Regions from separate parts of the Homo sapiens genome. Here all the other regions are linked to region 6. The links are contacts of gene promoters, found by promoter capture Hi-C in human tissues and cell types (Jung and others, 2019). All regions are on one chromosome and are shown on one strand. The core of a region is centred on a gene start or on the middle of the fragment in contact, and the rest is flanking DNA. Distances in the headings are between cores, read along the strand shown. Region 1 overlaps ERC1 (ELKS/RAB6-interacting/CAST family member 1). Region 2 overlaps ERC1 (ELKS/RAB6-interacting/CAST family member 1). Region 3 has its middle 4.9 kb from the start of NINJ2. Region 4 overlaps NINJ2 (ninjurin 2). Region 5 overlaps ERC1 (ELKS/RAB6-interacting/CAST family member 1). Region 6 holds the start of ERC1 (ELKS/RAB6-interacting/CAST family member 1).

Region 1 (3,034 bases), core at 424-2,923, 320 kb after region 6:
AAAATTGACCACTGACTTCTCTCCCCTGTTCTGTTGATACAACATTAAATTTATCAATGTTTGTTTTTGTCAAACTTCAGTAGTGTTAGAGGTATGAGATCAGCCTTAGTTGATTAGAGGTATGAGATCAGCCTTAGTTGATTAGTAAAAAGGATTTTATATGCCTAAGATAGCAAGAGAGATATGCCTTTGATCTTTCTTATTTATAGGAAAATAATTTATTAACCTAATTTTTATTGTCACTTCTAACCTAAATACATAGTTGTCCTATTAATGGGGACCTTTTTTTCCCGTGAGCATCTGAAACAGTCTTTTTTTTCTATGTATGTGAAGTGGTAATAGTTTTTCTCGTGTATCAGGCAACTACCAACTTATTTTAGACCAGAAATTCTTGGAAATGGTACCGATCCAGTTGGCATAAAATGTGCAAGCACTATTCTATTGATTCCTCAAAAAGATGCAATTGCTTTACTCATAGAGTTATCAGTTATTTTTCTGGCTATTTCACTTGAAGTAGCCATGCTTTGTCTTTTTTTCTATGGAGATACGTGGCCAAAACTAAGTCTTTTCACCAGCTGGATGATAGGAAATTTGATAAAATTTGAGCAGTATAAAAACTTTCCCATTGACTTTATATGATTGAATTTCCACTATGTAAAATTAAACTAATTATTTCTTATGCTACCCAATATATAGTTTATTATTTGAAAACTATGTCCCCATTTTTCCTCAAGAACATGATTTTGTCTTTTGCATCTCAGTGCAGGGGTTGGACAGCATAATTTCTTCTCCTAGAAACACATTTTCTGCTGCTTGTAGCTACTATTTCTATTTTTTCATCAACAGCTACAGGAGTAAGTGGAGTTCCTGACATCTCTGTGTAATCAGTGGTATGATCACATACCCCATATTGACTTTTTCTTTTGAAGTTTATGCTGCTGTCTCTTCAGTACCTTGAGCTTGACCTCTAGCTTTAAGCAGTAAAGGTATCAAAGAAAATCAGTTGCCAGAGTCAGTCTGTTTGCTTGTGTCCTCCTAACCCACTGATGGCACCTCTGACTCCTTGACATTGTATTATTTGTTTCTCAGAGAAGTAAAGCAATTTTTTTTTTCCTCTGTCACCCAGGCTGGAATGCAGTGGCGGGATCTCGGCTCACTGCAACCACCTCCCGGGTTTGAGTGATTCTCATGCCTCAGTTTCCCGAGTAGTTGGGATTATAGGTGCCTGCCACCATGCCTGACTAATTTGTGTATTTTTAGTAGAGACGAGGTTTCACCATGTGGGTCAGGCTCGTCTCAAACTCCTGACCTCAAGTGATCTGCCCAGTTTGCCCTCCCAAAGTGCTGGTATCACAGGCGTGAACCACCACACCCGGCCAAAGCAGTTTTTTTTACATATAGACATTTAATATATTGACTTTGGTTGATTCTTACCTCACTTCCAAGATAATTGTTTCTGTTAAATTACATGTATTTTTAGGCTTGAGTCATCCACTATATTTATGAGTTGGTCATTTCTTTCATGAGTTGAGCTTGTTTTTAAAAGTTCTACTTTTAAAGTCCCCTTCTGTCTCTCCTGCAGCCACTTTCACTGTAACATTTATCATGTTATTCCTGGCAGCCAGTCTTCTTAACTCTCCATCATTACTTTTGGCAGGTTACAGCAGTATCACTTAGGGTTCTCTTAGTTCATTTTTAATGAACATCCAAAAGATGCTCCTATTGCAATAAAACCATAAGAAAAGATTAATAGAATAAGGGTTTATTCTATTAATAGGCAATTTGGGGCTGCTACAGTGGCTCCATGATACCAATGGTTCTGGGCTCTTTCTTTTCCGCTATCCTTAGTATATGGCCTTCTTCCTCCTGCTTGCAAAATGGTGGCATACAGAAGCCTTTCCTACATATTCCAGAATATGAAGAAAGACAAGGGGGAAAAGGGACGTGCCAACTGGTTAAACAACAATCACCATATCAAAGACCCACCCACTAGATTTCTTCTTCTTACTGGCCAGAACTTTGTAGCGTGCCCACCCTCTATACACAACAGGCTGCAAAGGAGGCTGGAATATCACGTTTTAGTTGGGCAGTGACTATCCAGTGCAAAATCCAGATTCCGTTAGTAAAGGATGTTGATGGAGTGGATGGATATTAAACAGAGATTCAACTTTCCTGTTCAGAAACGTGTTATAACTCCATATATTGCTTTAATTCTATCTATCCTAGATAGACTTACAAGGCTAGAATAAGACCTTTAGAGGCACTAACCAACCACCAAAAAGAGGCTAATCACCTCCCATATGTAAATCAAATTGTACAAAAAATTGAAAAAAATACATGTAAAGACCGAAAACATTTTGATTTATCCTATGACGTTTCAGTATTTTTCTGGAAGTATTAAATATTCTAAAATTTTTTTTTTTGCCCGGGTACGGTGGCTCATGCCTGTAATCCCAACACTTTGGAGGCCAAGCTGGGCGGATCCCCTGAGGTCGGGAGTTCGAGACCAGCCTGGCCAACATGGTGAAACCCTGTCTCTACTATAATACAAAAATCAGCCGGGCATGGTGGTAGGTGCCTATAATCCCAGCTACTCGGGAGGCTGAGGCAGGAGAATTGCTTGAACCTGGAAGGCGGAGTTTGCTGTGAGCCCAGATCACACCATTGCACTTCAGCCTGGGCAACAGAGTGAGACTCTGTCTAAAAACATAATAATAATAAATTAAATTAAATTAAAGTGTGTGGTAGTGATAATGGGCTGGAGGGTATGGTGAGTCTATGTTGCTGACATGCTAACCCACATCCTGTCTACTTCATCAGTATTTCCTATTGTATTAGAAAGATGAGAAGGTTCCTTAAATTTTTAACTCCATAGAGGTGATTCATTTACTATAAAGCCTTAAGAAAAATACTTACCCTATCTGGGCCTCTGTTTCTCCATCCATGAAATGAGAACATTGATCATAATAGAAAAGTAGGCAAAGAATATAATCAAGCAATTCACAAAACTATACACGCAGATGACTAATAAAAT
Region 2 (2,901 bases), core at 91-2,590, 400 kb after region 6:
CCAAATAGATACATCAAGAAAGCCGTTGGCTGGAGATGCTCCAGGTAAAGATGAGAGCTAGAAATGATAATTTTGGAGTCATCAGAACAGAAATACTACTTAAACCCATGAAAATGGAATAGCTTGCTTAAGAGAGAATATAGGCAAGTTATACTTACTTTTTACTGTTTTCTGACACATACTAAAATATTAACACAGGCCATTCTTTTCATCCTTACAGATTATAGTTCAATGAGCATATGCCCTCTGTAAGCCTGTTGGTAATGGATTTCAGAATTGGCTCTACTGGATATGCATTGCTAGGAGTTTTTATGCAGTTCTAGGGTTTTTAAGACCTTTTTTTCATGTCTTACATGTGTTGAAAATGCTTTAAGCATTTATGGCACAATATATCACAGGTGATTGTGATCTTATATACCCCATAGCCATTTTGCTGATTTGATATATAAATTAATAAAGCTCTGTTCCTGGAAATGAGGATAATGCTACATGAATACTCCAAAGAGTTAACATAAATGTAGTCTTGAAAAGCACTCCCTCAAGAAAAGAATTCTGTCCAAATCCTATTAATTCCCGGGTATTTTGCCTATTTTCCTTAAAAGCACCTTACATTAAAAAATCTGTTTTGCATTCAGTCTCTAAGCAAAAATATGTAGTGCCTTTAAAGAAACAACAACAAAAAAACCCTTGAGTAGGTTAATCTCTCCATTTTAAGTTACACACTTATTTCATGAACTAATCAAACTTGTCGTTAAGGCTTCATTAATTTCCTCTCCACTCATGGGGTGGGATGGTTGAATCATAGCGGGGCTGTGTGTGTCTGGAAGTGACCTTTGTATATTTGGGTGGTAAATTATACTTCAAAATACCAGTAGACATTTTATTAAAATTTTTATTTTCTTTGGTAGATTATTTCCTTCTAATTATAGTAGTAAACACTGGTATGTTATGATTAGTGATTAGCTTATAACAAACATCTAAACAGGGATAAGTCAGCCTGTTTAGCGATAAACCTGTCTCTTGATATATTTAGAACTGATCACTAGCCAGTATGGCTCCATATATTTCTAGGACAGTGTAACCCACAGTGACATAAATTAAAATTTTAAAAAAATCAAGGATACAGTAAATACCAACTGTCTATTAATATTGATTAATAAATCAATACATTTAAAAAATAATAAAGTTTAATTTTTCAAATTGATAAAAGTAAAAATTACTAAATTGATACATTACTGAGTTAATAAAATTAACATTTACTACTATTAATCTAAATGGGAAGGTGAAACATGGGACAAAGAATGAATTTTTCTGAACCTAAAAACTGGAAGGAAAGTCAAAAGTACTTACCAGAGCATGCTTAGGATGCCCAAAGGTACTGTCAGTTCATCTCCCGGAGGTGGGGTTAGTTTAGTCACCACCAAAATAAAACTGTGGTCAAACCATGAATTTTGGAGTATTAAATGAACCCAGTTGTGGATTCACTATGGTCAAATTACTACAAGAACTGGGACTGGAATAGGTTGCCCTGCCCTAGAAGTTTCCTAGTTGATTGAGTTGAGGTCTGATTAAGTTGAGGTCACTTCCAGACACACACAGTCGCACTCTGATTCAACCATCCCACTCCAGGAATGGAGAGGAAATTAATGAAGCCTTACTGACAAGTTTGATGAGGGAGGGAGCAGCTATGTTGGCATGTCTTCTAAGAGCTGTTTCTGACTTCTGGTGCCCAGCAGTAGTCCAGCTATGGTAGCTGATCAGTTGCTGCCTAATTACCTAATCCTATTGGCAAGATGAATGTTTCAGTTCGCTGCTGTGCCTTTAATCATAATTGTCTTTTATTCATTCAGTTTGAGGTCTTCCTGGTTCTTGGGATGTTGAGTGATTCTCAGTTGAAACCTGGACATGTTGGATGTTATGCGATATGACTCTGGGTCTTACTTAGACTTCTGTTTTAGCTGGTTTTCTTTGACACCACTCCAGCAGGGGAAGAATGGGGTGCTGCCTCAGTATTGCCCAGTGGAGGTAGAAGTCCAGTTTCTCCCACTTGGACCCTGCTGACACTCAAGGGGTGGAGGCTTCTTGTTACTCCTAGGTGGAGATGGGTATTCATGTCCCCACTAGGCTTCACTGGTGTATCCCTGCCTGGTTAGGGTAGGAAGGCCTCCACTAACACAGTGGGGGTGAAGGAAGGGGGGCCTGGTTACTGCTGTGCGGTAGTGAAGGTCCGACTCCACCAGGAGACACGGCTGTTACTGCTCCATGGAGGTGGAATTCTAGAATCCTCACCTAGTCTCTAGTGACACTGTGGAGGGGAGACTTCATTGCTGATGGTTGGAGATTATAGCCCTGCCTCCCTCGGCTTTCCCTGACACCTTCCAGTGGAGCAAGGAGAGGCTGAAGCACCTCCTCACAACCTGGTGAGCATGGGGCCCGCCGCTTGGTCTTTACTGACATGAGTGACAGTGGGACCACATGGTCTTTGGAATAGAGTGATTGTTGTCCCACAGGTTTCTATGTTGCTAGGCTGTCCCTTTCCTTTGGAGGCTTCTTTGGCTAGAGAGAGTGGGCTCCTGTTGAAGCTTTTTTGGTCTGTGCCTGTTGGCATTTCCTGGTTGTTGGCTTCTTCAGCTCTACCTCTGGATATATAAGGCAGAAAGATCCAGGGAGCTGCAGGTCACAGCACTCCTGACTGGTCTGCCTTCTCTCTGCCTTTTTAGTGTTTGTCTGTGTGTATAGTTCTTGTTGTACTTTTATACTTAGTGTGCTGGAGAAAAAAAAATATTCCTGATACTTCTTAAAGACAGTAAGGCAGACTATTCAGGGGACCACTGAGATGAGGATTTGTGTTAGAGGGCAGAGATTGGGCTCAACTCAGAATACACAAGGACCAATGGAGAT
Region 3 (3,108 bases), core at 542-3,041, 320 kb before region 6:
ACCATGCCCAGCCAGTAAACTTTTTCTGTAAGGGGCCAGAGAGCCAATATTTTTTAGCCTTTGTGTGTCATATGGTTTCTGCTGCGATGACTCACTTCTATAATAATGTGAAAGCAGTCATAGACAACATGTAAATGAACGAGTGTGGGAGTGTTCCAATAAAACTTTATTTACAAAAAGAGTCAGATATTCATAAAAACAGACCGGAGTTGGCTCCACAGGCTATAGTCTGCTGACCCCTGCTCTAGGATTTAATCAGAGTCTTTGAAGTCTAATTCCCACTTGAGAGGCAACTACTGAGTCTCTACCACGTGGATATTGGGTTAAACACTGCGGGGATATAAAAGCACCACATGCACGCCCTGGTGAGACAACTGATGGCAAGGGAAGCTGTAGTGAAGAGTGTTGCTGCCATTTGGCTGGTGCTGAAACTGCACCTACGTGGAGGTTATCACTGTGGGTGGAAATGGTTTCTATTGTTCTTTACTGCTAGGGTGATTTTTGTGGTGTAAAGCCAGAGGGACATTTTTAGGGAGACTGTCTCTTGGAAAGCATATTTTGGAATATCCTTGAACTTACAGATAAGTAGACACTCAGAGTGACTCAGAAACTACTCTGAGTCTAGTTTCATGGAATGAGGGGTCTACAATGAGACCCTAGGTATCTTGCTATGTAGAAGGAGCAAAGCATTGTTGTAGGGTACTGAAGAAGGCAACAGCAAGAAGATCCTTTAATTTTGAATTGTGGGAAAAGCTCTAGGGTGAAAGCCAGGTGGCCTGGATTCCTCTCTGTGTGCTGAGTCACTGTGTTTTTAGGCAAGTCACTTAACTTCTCTGGGGCTTACATTCTTGTTTGTGAATGTGAAGCTATCAAAAGAGTTGATTCCTAAGATCCCTCTAGCTCTTAAATTCTGTTTCTAATGTGTGTTTTGGCCAGGTGTCGTGGCTCACACCTGTAATCCAGCACCGAGGTAGGCAGATCACCTGAGGTCAGGAGTTTGAGACCAGCCTGGACAACATGGTGTAACCCCTCTCTACTAAAAATACAAAAATTAGCTGGGCCTGGTGGTGCATGCCGGTAATCCCAGCTATTTGGGAGGCTGAGGCACAAAAGAATGGCGTGAACCCAGGAGGTGGAGGTTGCAATGAGCCGAGACCACAACACTGCGCTCCAGCCTGGGTGACAGAGTGAGACTCTGTCTCAAAAAAAAAAAAAAAAAAAAAAAGTTTATATTAAATACTTCCTGTGTAACAATATAAAATCTCAGATACAGGTCTGAATTTCAGTGTGTAAAAGTTGAGGGCTAGAAATTATTGGCTTTTTAAAAAATTGAAGCAGAGCAAGAAGAATCTAATGCTTTTAGTTTAATTTTACCAATAAGACCTTCCCTGATGGAAAATTTATGTAATTAGAAAAATTTTAGGGAAAATTACCACTGTCTGTTGCCCCTGCTCATGGAGACTGAGTAGGGCATACCCACGTCAAACAAGATACAGAAGTGAGAATAAAAGCTGACTTCAAAACATTCTTACAAACTTGCTTATGCCCATTTACACATGAACTCAGCTGCTTTCAAATTCACTTCTCCAGGAATCCCAGGGCCAACAGGGATGGCAAAGGGAAGCTTTCTGAGGGCCTATGGAGGGAGCTGGTAGTGCAGTAAATGTTATTGAACATTTCCATCTTCACTCTTCAATATAGTAGCCATTAGCCACATTAGCCAATTGAGCACATGAAATTTGGTTGGCTGAGTAGGAATTTGAGTTTTAAATCTGATTTAGTTTCAATAAATTCACATATTTTGATTTTATTTATTTTTAAATTTATTTTAGAGACAGGGTCTTACTCTGTCACCCAGGCTGGAGTACAGTGGCACAATCATAGCTCACTGCAACCTCGAACTCCTGGGCTTAAGTAATCCACAACCTTAGCCTTCCCAAGTGCTGGGATTACAAGCATGAGCTACTGTGCCTGGCCTAAAATCACCCCCCACTTTTTTTTTTTTTTTTTTTTTGAGACAGAGTCTTACTCTGTCCCACAGGCTGGAGTGTGCTGGCGTGATCTCAGCTCACTGCAACCTCCACCTCACAGGTTCATGCAATTCTCATGCCTCAGCCTCCTGAGTAGCCAGGATTACAGGCGTGTACCACCATGCCCAGCTAATTTTTCTGTGTATTTTCAGTAGAGACGTGGCTTCACCATGTTGACCAGGCTGGTCTCGAACTCCTGACCTCAGGTGATCCGCCCACCTCGACCTCCCAAAGTGCTAGAATTACAGGCGTGAGCCACTGCGCCCAGCCTCTAAGTTCACATTTACGTGGTTACATTTAAGTAGCTAGTAGCCACCTTCTCGGCCAGTGGAGCTATCAACCAAAATTCCACATTTAGAATCCTGTCATTGTGTATGTGTCACTTCTATTTGGCTGCTCACGCCTTGATAGATGCTCACGGGGCCTGACTTCACACAAATAGGAAGTCAGGGCACACAGCTCTCGTGGGAATGCCCCACGAGGCCTGGGGATGCTCTTGGTGGTGGTGAGTAAAATTTCCCTTCACTCTTTCACATTCAGAGGAGGGGGATTTTAACTGTGACTCACTGTTCAATGAATGATTAAAAACAGAGCCTCCGGTTGGGCGCGGTGGCTCACACCTGTCATCCCAGCACTTTGGGAGGCTGAGGCGGGTGGATCACGAGGTCAGGAGTTCAAGACCAGCCTGGCCAAGATGGTGAGACCCCGTCTCTATTAAAAATACAAAAAAAGTAGCTGGGCATGGTGGCGCGCGCCTGTAGTCCCAGCTACTTGGGAGGCTGAGGCAGGAGAATCGCTTGAACCCGGGAGGGGGAGGTTGCAGTGAGCTGAGATCACACCACTGCACTCCAGCCTGGCGACAGAGCAAGACTCCGTCTCAGAAAAAAAAAAAAGGTGCCTGGCACTCTCTTGGTGGCTTAAGGGAGAGGAATAGATGATCTTTTCTTAGTGATAGGAGAGAGACAAAGATCAGTGGTTTGCAAACTTTTTAAAGATAAGAAATCCTTTTCTTAAACGTAATCTTATGTGGAAGTTAACATAAAGCAGATTAAAGTGAAGCTGTTTGAATGCTAGAGTC
Region 4 (2,902 bases), core at 186-2,685, 410 kb before region 6:
TGAATGGGCACAGGCAGGCAGGCATGCTAGAGTGAATGAATGAATGGACGCAGGCAGGCAGGCATGCTAGAGTGAATGAATGAATGGACGCAGGCAGGCAGGCATGCTAGAGTGAATGAATGAATGGGCGCAGGCAGGCAGGCATGCTAGAGTGAATGAATGAATGGGCGCAGGCAGGCAGGCATGCTAGAGTGAATGAATGAATGGACGCAGGCAGGCATGCTAGAGTGAATGAATGAATGGACGCAGGCAGGCATGCTAGAGTGAATGAATGAATGGACGCAGGCAGGCAGGCATGCTAGAGTGAATGAATGAATGGACGCAGGCAGGCAGGCATGCTGGTGTGAATGAATGAATGGGCGCAGGCAGGCAGGCATGCTGGTGTGAATGAATGAATGGGCGCAGGCAGGCAGGCATGCTAGAGTGAATGAATGAATGGACGCAGGCAGGCAGGCATGCTAGAGTGAATGAATGAATGGGCGCAGGCAGGCAGGCATGCTAGAGTGAATGAATGAATGGGCGCAGGCAGGCAGGCATGCTAGAGTGAATGAATGAATGGGCGCAGGCAGGCAGGCATGCTAGAGTGAATGAATGAATGGGCGCAGGCAGGCAGGCATGCTAGTGTGAATGAATGAATGGGCGCAGGCAGGCAGGCATGCTAGTGTGAATGAATGAATGGGTGCAGGCAGGCAGGCATGCTAGAGTGAATGAATGAATGGGTGCAGGCAGGCAGGCATGCTAGTGTGAATGAATGAATGGGCGCAGGCAGGCAGGCATGCTAGTCCTGCCTTTAGCGCTGGCCCAGATTCAGGCTAGAAGTGCCCTTTCCACAGCTCAGGGCGATGCCCCAGGGCAGCCAGGCAAGTGTCAGGTCCCTGCTGTGCCTTCACCCTCTTTCTAAAAATACTAACGAGCGAGAGACCTCCAAGGCCACCAAACAGATATCCAGTTGTTCTCTGGGGTCAGTCCTTCACAGCCTGAGGCTGCCACCTGGCACCTGCCGCCTCTGGGCCTCCCGCCTGACAGCTGACCCCTGTCATCGCTGTGACTGTTCACTGTAAGGCAAAGTCCAGTTTGGCAGAGGTGGGGACTCCTGAGCAGCCAGGTCCAGCTTGGCCCAGCCTTGCCCATGCTGAATTGTGGGATACCAGGACAGCTTGGGGGTCTCCAACCCTGAGCCCAACCAAAGCAAACCCTTCTTTTTTGCTGGGGCTCTATTTCCACAGCCATGAAATGGAGGCGGTCAACCCCTGCAAAGCCTCGAAGTGTGAGTGGCAGCCTGGCTTGAGGACGCGGACACTTAGAACCAGGACAGCGGAGTCGAGACCTGGCCCTGCCCCTTCATAGCTGCATGGCTTGGGAGCTCTCTCAGTCACCTACTAAAAATGGGGATCGTAAGATTACAGAACAGTGATAGCATTAACCTATTTTTAAGGATCTATATTTATATACTTAGATCAATCTGATAGGGTGCAGACTAAAATATTAAGCATCGTCTTGAGGCGATAGGATATCAGATATTATTTTCTTTTTTTGCTTTATCTGTATTTTCTAATTTTTCTTCAATGAACATTTGGAGTAAAAAAAAAACCCAAAATGTTAAAGCAACAACCAGATAATTAGTACTTAAGTATTTGTCCTGACTTACAGGACAGTTTGAGAATGATGTTTATGAAAGTGGTTTACAAACTGTAAAGTTCTTTGCAAATGTAAATGGTCCTTATCATTTTCTCCAAGGGCATTTTGGAACTACAGGGATGGGGAGAGAATCGTTTCCTGGCCAGGTGCGGTGGCTCACACCTTTAATCCCAGCACTTAGGGAGGCTGAGGTGGGCAAATCACTTGAGCCCAGAAGTTCCAGCCAGCCTGGGAAACATAACGAGACCCTGTCTCCATGAAAAACTTTTTTGGCTGGACACGGTGGCTCACGCCTGTAATCCCAGCACTATGGGAGGCTGAGCTGGGTTGATCACCTGAGGTCAGGAGTTTGAGACCAGCCTGGCCAACATAGTGAAACCCTATCTCTACTAAAAATTAAAAAATTAGCCGAGCATGGTGGCACCCGCCTGTAATCCCAGCACTTTGGGAGGCGGAGGCAGGTGGATCATCTGAGATGAGGAGTTTGAGATCAGCCTGGCCAACATAGTGAAACCCCATATCTACTAAAAATACAAAATTTAGCCGGGTGTGGTGGCGGGTGCCTGTAATCCCAGCTGCTCAGGAGGCTAAGGCAGGAGAATCACTTGAACCCGGGAGGTGGAGGTTGCAGTGAGCCGAGATTGCGCCACTGCACTTCAGACTGGGGGATGGAGTGAGACGTCTCTCAAAACAAAAACAAAAACAAAAATTTAATTAAAAATAAAAGCAGGCTAGGGGCGCGCTCACACCCGTAATCCCAGCACTTTGGGAGGTGGAGGCGGGTGGATCAGGAGTTCGAGACCAGCCTGGCCAATATGGTGAAACCCCGTCTCTACTAAAAATAAAAGAAAATTAGCTGGGCGTGGTGGCGGGCCCCTGTAGTCCCACCTACTTGGGAGGCTGAGGCAGGAGAATCACTTGAACCGGGGAGGCGGAGGTTGAAGTGGGCTGAGATCGCGCCACTGCGCTCCAGCCTGGGAGACAGAGCGAGACTCCGTCTCAATAAACACATAAATAAAAGCAAATCCTTCTTTTCGCTAAGGCTGCATTTCCACCGCCATGAAATGGAGGCTGTCTCTGCAGTGACCTTCACCTGCCGCCAGCGGTTCTCTCCCCGCCATTCACTGGGCTCTGGGGGCTCTGGGCTTCCCTGCTGCAAGCTCTTAACCCTTAGCGTGAGCAGATGGTAGAACTGCCCATGCCAAGAGGGGTCCATACCAACTTCCGGAATAAACGAGGCCAAAGGGAAAGAGTAGGTTCGCCG
Region 5 (2,820 bases), core at 68-2,567, 480 kb after region 6:
AAACTGCATTCCAAATAAACTGTGGGGCTCTGCCTGTTAAAAGGTAGGAGGTCCTGGCGAATCTGTTATGTCCAGTAATTACTGAATACTCCCTTAGGGGCCATTCAGGGTCTGCTGGTTACTTCAATAAAGAATGCTGTAAGAAAAGCACTGAGTCTCTGGCCCTTTCTAAAAGAGTTGTGTAAGAGACATAAAGCCATAAAATATGAAGTAGGTGCTTGTTTAGCGACTGAATGAAATCAGGAATTTTCCGGAGATAAGATTATGGTATTCTTCTACACTGTATAAATGCTATCTTCCTGCTTTGTTTACCTCTTTTTATACAAAAGACCACCTAGGCACAAAAGGAAGTGCCCCTACCTAGCATAGTCTGAACGAGTGAAAGAGAGTCTTTAATTTTAACACTAAAGATAACAGATCTTGCTGTAAAGTGCAATGATGCTTAATAGCCCTAAAGATCAGGTTGTGATTGATGGGATTTCTCATGGTGTTCTTGTTAAAGATAAATAGTAGTTTTTAATGTTATCAGACTGGAAACATCTTACTCTTTTCTAATGTAAGCTCTAAAGCAAACTTCGGACACTAACATCTTATTGCCAACTTAACAGAAAAGTGTGATGGGATATTGGATAAGGCTCCGACCTGCGTGCCTGAAATTTCAGTGGTTCGGTTTGTTCCTTTGAATGAGGCATCTCTCTGAGGCACTGCCTTTCTAAGTGCAAGTTTTCTAGGAAGGGCAGTGTGTTGTCAGTTTCTCCTTAGCGTGCCCAGTGTATCTAGGATGATACAAACAGGAAGAGACTGGGAAAAGGAGGGTTCAAAAAAGGGAGGGACCCAATGGCCAGATTAAAAACCAGCTTAACCTCTTCATTGTATCCCAGGCCTGATGATTGAGCATCTTTATTCTTAGGATTCTCCAACTTTAGGCTACCTGATACATCTAGAGCAGCGGTCCCCAACGTTTTCGGCACCGGGGACTGGTTTCACAGAAGGCAGTTTTTCCACAGACAGGGGAGTGGCAGGGAAGGGATGGTTTCAGGATAATTGAAGCACATTACATTTATTGTGCACTTTATTTCTGTTATTATTCCATTGTAATATATAATGAAATAATTATACAATTCACCATAATGTAGAATCCATGGGAGCCCAGAGCTTGTTTTCCTGCAACTAGACTGTCCCATTTGGGAGTGATGGGAGACAGTGATAGATTATCAGGCATTAGATTCTCATAAGGAGCACGCGGCCTAGATCCCTCGCGTGCGTGGTTCACAATAGGGTTTGCGCTCATATGAGAATCTAATGCCTCAGCTGATCTGACAAGAGACGGAACTCAGGCAGTAATGCACGCAATGGAGAGCGGCTGTAAATATAGATGAAGCTTTGCTTCCTGGCTAGCCCTTCACCTCCTGCTGTGTGGCCCAGTTCCTAACAGGGCCTGGACCAGTACACGGACCCAGTACTGGGAGTTGGAGACTCCCGATCTACAGTATGTGAGAAATCACATCAACCTTTTACAAGGATTGAGCCTAAATTTGAACCAAAAAATACTTACTTCTAAAAGTAAGTAAGCCACAGATAGATGTCAGAATACAACTAGCAAGAAGGTAAAGACTCATGGAAAAGATGGAGTAATGAGTTTTCTTAGCACTGTATGATACGACAGAAAAGCTGCAGGGGGAAGGCTTCACGAAAGCAAAAAACTCCAACTAGAAATAGCCTGCAGGGGCCAGGTGCAGCGACTCACGCCTGTAATCCCAGCACTTTGGGAGGCCAAGGTGGGTGGATCACTTGAGGTCAGGAGTTCAAGGTCAGCCTGGCCAACATGGTGAAACCCATCTCTACTAAAAATACAAAAATTAGCCCAGCATTGTGTTGCACACCTGTAGTCCCAGCTACTTGGAAGGCTGAGGCAGGAGAATCGCTAGAACCCGGGAGGTGGAGGTTGCAGTGAGCTGAGATCATGCCACTGCACTCCAGCCTGGGCAACAGAGCAAGACCCCATCAAAAAAGAAAGACAGAAAAAGAGAGAGAGAGGAAAGGAAAGGAGGAAGAAAGAAAGGAGAAAAGAAAGGAAAGAAAGAGCCTGCAGGCTCTCAGGGATCACTGTTCTACTGTTATTTTATAAGGCAAACCAGGGATGAGCTGTATTTAGCCACAGATTATTAAATCTGGAAAGAATTTAGAAATCATCTAATCTCCCCTTTATACACATAATGAAGCTGAGGACAGAGAGGCTCAAGATGGTAAAGCTAAGTGGCAGAGTTAGAACTAGACATTTCTTCCATTTCAGACCTTTTCCCACTACTTCCCTGTGCAACCTTGGGAAGAAAGTCCTCTTAGCCTGTCAGAGGCATCTCTGTCTGTAACTGTTCTCCTTCACGAATGTTAACTCCTCTGCAGGATGCCACAGGGACATTTGCCTTCTAGTGCAAGCAGAGTGTTTCAGGAATGCATAACAGCAGATAGATACATGTCTGTGCTAGGTGTTGTGCACTAACCAAGCACTATGGATTTCTTGCAGGGAGAAAAAGGAAGAGTAGATAACTAACAATATCTTATTAAGAGTCTCCTGCAGGGCTGTGACTCCACGCAGCTCTCTTCTCCCTGTCCTGCTGGTGGGAGCCTTGAGCCCAGCTCTTGAGCACTGTCTGGTGTGGCACCCTGCAGGCTGCCAGCAGCTGTCATACGGGCATTGGGATCGTTGGAAAGTGCTGCAACATGGGAGTAGCTGGGGCAGCTGTTGATTGGGAGCAGCCTCCACGGGCTGTGTTCAGTGGGTGATTCCATGCCTTTGGTCTGTGTGGAGCTCACTCTCTC
Region 6 (3,007 bases), core at 304-2,803:
ATCTCAGACACCTACTTCAAACCTCACTTTACAGTTAAGTAAGACCACAAGTAGAATGAATTGCCTGAGGCCACACAAGTAGACAGTGGGAGAATGAGAACAGAAATATCTATTGACTCCTAGTTGAATTTTCTCTTACCTTACCACACTGCTAGGGAGTAACAAGATGGGCAGATCACGAGTCAGATGAGAAAGGTCATGAAAAATAGTCAAAGGATGACTTTTCCTGGGTAAATAGCCGGATGTCCAAGAAATGAAAGGCTGGTCTGGCAGCAGCACATCGTCTAACAGTTGGTAGTCATATGTGGGAAGTACTGAAGGGGGAGATGACAGCAGGCCCAGAAACTGCAATGATCCAAGTGCATGTCGATCCTGGGAGGGAACAGTTAAGAGTCCGGGCAGGATGAAACAGTAGAAACTGGTGAGTGAATGAATGTGAAGGCTGAGGAGCGACTGCAATTTGTTAATGGGATTATGAGGCAGTATAAAGTGGTTAATTACGGTGGCGGAGGTAAGCAGGAGTAAAATGATGGCTTTTAACTCCTCTCAAGGACACCGAAAATTATTTTAATAAACACTGGAAGGCTGGGAATAAATATAATTCACACCATTCTTACTTTCTTGGTTTAGAGATAGCTTATCTACATCCTTAAATTAATGGCTGTAGCTACCCTCTGCATGGCTCCAAAAAAAAAACAAAAAACAAAAAACAAAACCAAAGCCGGCTGCGAGTCTGCACGAGAAAATCGGGTTGCACCAGGCCCCAGCCGCCCGCCGATTCGCTTAGCTGTCGGAGGCTAAATAAACAGCTCCCGAAGCAGCGTTTGGCACAGCGCAGGGTCGGAACGTGGACACTAATTTCCGCCCACGCTCCCCGCGTCCTGGCGGGATCACCACAGACACGACGTCCATTGCTGGGGTCCTCGGCGATGCCCGTGTGCGCAGCCCCGCGAGTCTCAGGTCAGAAGACCACTAATTTCGCGGCCGCGTTCCACGAAGCTAAGGGGCAAAAAACCAGCTTTCTTGGGACAAAGCGTCCCCCCAGCAGCCAGGGTCGATCCCGGCGCTGCTCCCGCGGCGCTTGGCTGCCCCGGGCGTAACGGGCCACGAGAAGTAGGGGGTGGGGCGCCGCTTAGGTTTGGGAAGACACGAAGCGGCTCCTCGGGCTTCCAGCGTCCACTTCCTACGGCAAGCAGGAGGAGACAAGCGCCACCCTGCGCTCGCGGAGCCGACCCCGGCTCTCCCCTCCCGTGGCCGCAGGGGTCGTGTGTGTGTGTGTGTGAGTGTGTGTGTGTGTGCAGGGACGCTCCGCGCCCATCACTCTGTTTCGGTGCTAATCGACCGCCGTGGCGCCGATTTCCCCCGCTTCCCAGTTCCTCACCCGCGTGCCCCGGAAGGCGCCCGGAGGCCCCCGGGCCGCCGCGTCACGCTCCCGGGAGGCTGAGGGAAAGGGAGGCAGCCGAGCCGGGAGCCCGGGGAGGCGCGCTGCGCCCCGCGGCGGGGCTGGGGGCGGGGCTAGGTGTCTCGCGCAGGGGGCGGGGCGCGGTGACGTCGCGGGCGCCTGGGCCGTGCTGTGGCGGCGGCGGCGGCGGTAGTGGCGGCGGCGGCGGTGCCTGGGCGGCAGCAGCAGCAGTAGCGGCAGCCCTGAGGACGGTGAGACGGCCGCGGCGGCGGCGACAGCGCGGAAGTCGCGCGGGACCCAGAGCTTCCCCCCTGTCGCTAGTGCTGAGGCTTTCGCCTTTCCTACCCAGCTTCTTGCTCACGGCCCGGGCTGGGCTGGGCAGGGCAACGCGCCCCCGGGGAGGGGCGGAGCTGTAGGTGAGGCTTCGCGACCCCCTCCCCCTCCTCGGCAGCCCGGGGGGTGGGGAGGGGCGGGCCCCACCCAGACCACCGGCGCCCACCCGCGGGCTCCACCCAGCCGGGCTCCGGGATCGGGCGGGAGCCGAGGCGGTAGATGTGGGGATCCTGGGGCGGGAGGTGGGGGAGTGGGGACTGGGGCTCTGGGCACTTGGGGAGCGGAGGGGGGGAGGCTTAGGACTAGTGAAGCCGCGGACGAGGTAGTGGGGAGACGGAGAAATTGGGGAGCCATGAGGTTGGGGTGCGGTCAGGGTGGATCTTTGGGTTAGGTGAGTGATGTAAAATGCTGAAGATGATTCTTTTCTTTTCGATGAAATGGTGAGATAAAAGATGAAGTGTATTTCAAAAGGACGATGAGCTGTGCATGTTGCCTTTGAGGCAGTTGCAGAACCTATTTTATTGCACTAGATCTCACGTTTCTACTTTAGGGTTCGATTCTTTTTCTTCTGGCGGGGTGGGTGGGGGGTCGGAGAGGGAAGAGAATCCCCTTACTTTGGCTCAGGTAAATTGTGAGCGTGGATGTATCTGAAAGTTTTACACCGAAGAAGAGGGAGATCTTCGGTTTAGACAACTTCGTTCCGGCAGCCACCATTTGGGTCGCATTACGCTTAGCTCCTTCAAGGTGGTGTCTTCCAGTTTTTTTTCCCCCCAATGCCTAAAAGATCTCTTTATACCACCCTTTTACAGGCTTTATCCTGGCCCCTTGAGAGAAGGCCCCAAACTCAGGTGGTTGCTTTGGAAGGCACATTGCTGAATAATAGTTGCAGGTGGTTGTGGTTGACTGCTTTGGGTGGATAAAGTGAACAATTGGAATAGTTCTGTTGGAGCTAATTATATGAAAAATGCTTAAATGTTTTAAAGTACAACCGTCTTTTATAGCGTGTTGCTTGCTCAGTACACCTTGACTTTTAGACATTTTGTGTTCAGTGCTAAATTGTTGAAATTTTATTTCTCATTTGCAGTTATGTTTCTTGCAGTCTTTATTAAAACACTTTAAAATGAAATGGAACTCTTTTTTTTTGGTAGGCTCCTCAATTTCTGAGAAATGTTCTTGGAGTCAAGTGCTTTAAAAACATTTTGGGGGCAGGTGTGTCACTTTGTATGGAAATATTAGAGTAAGCAGTGTTCAATGTTCTTCACATCACTCTTT

What was found. The method cuts DNA at HindIII sites, captures the fragments that hold promoters and counts their contacts. A contact is called where the count stands out against the background at its distance.
Region 1: a contact is called between a fragment that was not itself captured here and the fragment with the promoter of ERC1 in region 6, in 1 of the 25 tissues and cell types used here (dorsolateral prefrontal cortex).
Region 2: a fragment that was not itself captured here is called in contact with the fragment with the promoter of ERC1 in region 6 in 1 of the 25 tissues and cell types used here (heart left ventricle).
Region 3: a contact is called between a fragment that was not itself captured here and the fragment with the promoter of ERC1 in region 6, in 1 of the 25 tissues and cell types used here (hippocampus).
Region 4: a contact is called between a fragment that was not itself captured here and the fragment with the promoter of ERC1 in region 6, in 2 of the 25 tissues and cell types used here (dorsolateral prefrontal cortex and mesenchymal stem cells).
Region 5: a contact is called between a fragment that was not itself captured here and the fragment with the promoter of ERC1 in region 6, in 1 of the 25 tissues and cell types used here (lymphoblastoid cells).

Annotation. Positions count from the first base shown.
Region 1 is chr12:1,311,281-1,314,314 of GRCh38, forward strand. The region is part of intron 15 of ERC1 (ELKS/RAB6-interacting/CAST family member 1); the gene reads left to right. Among named protein-coding and RNA genes, the nearest start is that of LINC00942, 190 kb to the right of the region's middle. The HindIII fragment of the contact is 3,459 bases long and covers 1-3,034 here.
Region 2 is chr12:1,389,243-1,392,143 of GRCh38, forward strand. All of the region lies in intron 16 of ERC1 (ELKS/RAB6-interacting/CAST family member 1), which reads left to right. Among named protein-coding and RNA genes, the nearest start is that of LINC00942, 110 kb to the right of the region's middle. The HindIII fragment of the contact is 7,264 bases long and covers 1-2,901 here.
Region 3 is chr12:666,745-669,852 of GRCh38, forward strand. No RefSeq gene overlaps it. Among named protein-coding and RNA genes, the nearest start is that of NINJ2, 4.9 kb to the left of the region's middle. RefSeq lists an enhancer at 1-398. The HindIII fragment of the contact is 6,399 bases long and covers 1-3,108 here.
Region 4 is chr12:582,480-585,381 of GRCh38, forward strand. All of the region lies in intron 1 of NINJ2 (ninjurin 2), which reads right to left. Among named protein-coding and RNA genes, the nearest start is that of NINJ2-AS1, 47 kb to the right of the region's middle. RefSeq lists a silencer at 1,164-1,458. The HindIII fragment of the contact is 8,623 bases long and covers 1-2,902 here.
Region 5 is chr12:1,466,594-1,469,413 of GRCh38, forward strand. All of the region lies in intron 18 of ERC1 (ELKS/RAB6-interacting/CAST family member 1), which reads left to right. It overlaps LOC124902856 (a long non-coding RNA gene), which reads left to right. Exons shown (of 2, transcript XR_007063156.1): 2 at 1-147. Among named protein-coding and RNA genes, the nearest start is that of LINC00942, 32 kb to the right of the region's middle. The HindIII fragment of the contact is 3,956 bases long and covers 1-2,820 here.
Region 6 is chr12:989,670-992,676 of GRCh38, forward strand. It overlaps ERC1 (ELKS/RAB6-interacting/CAST family member 1), which reads left to right and starts at 1,554. Exons shown (of 19, transcript NM_178040.4): 1 at 1,554-1,653. It also overlaps a transcript of RAD52 not described here. RefSeq lists enhancers at 385-947, 1,509-2,070 and silencers at 769-818, 1,229-1,338, 1,359-1,868, 2,074-2,368. The HindIII fragment of the contact is 12,512 bases long and covers 1-3,007 here.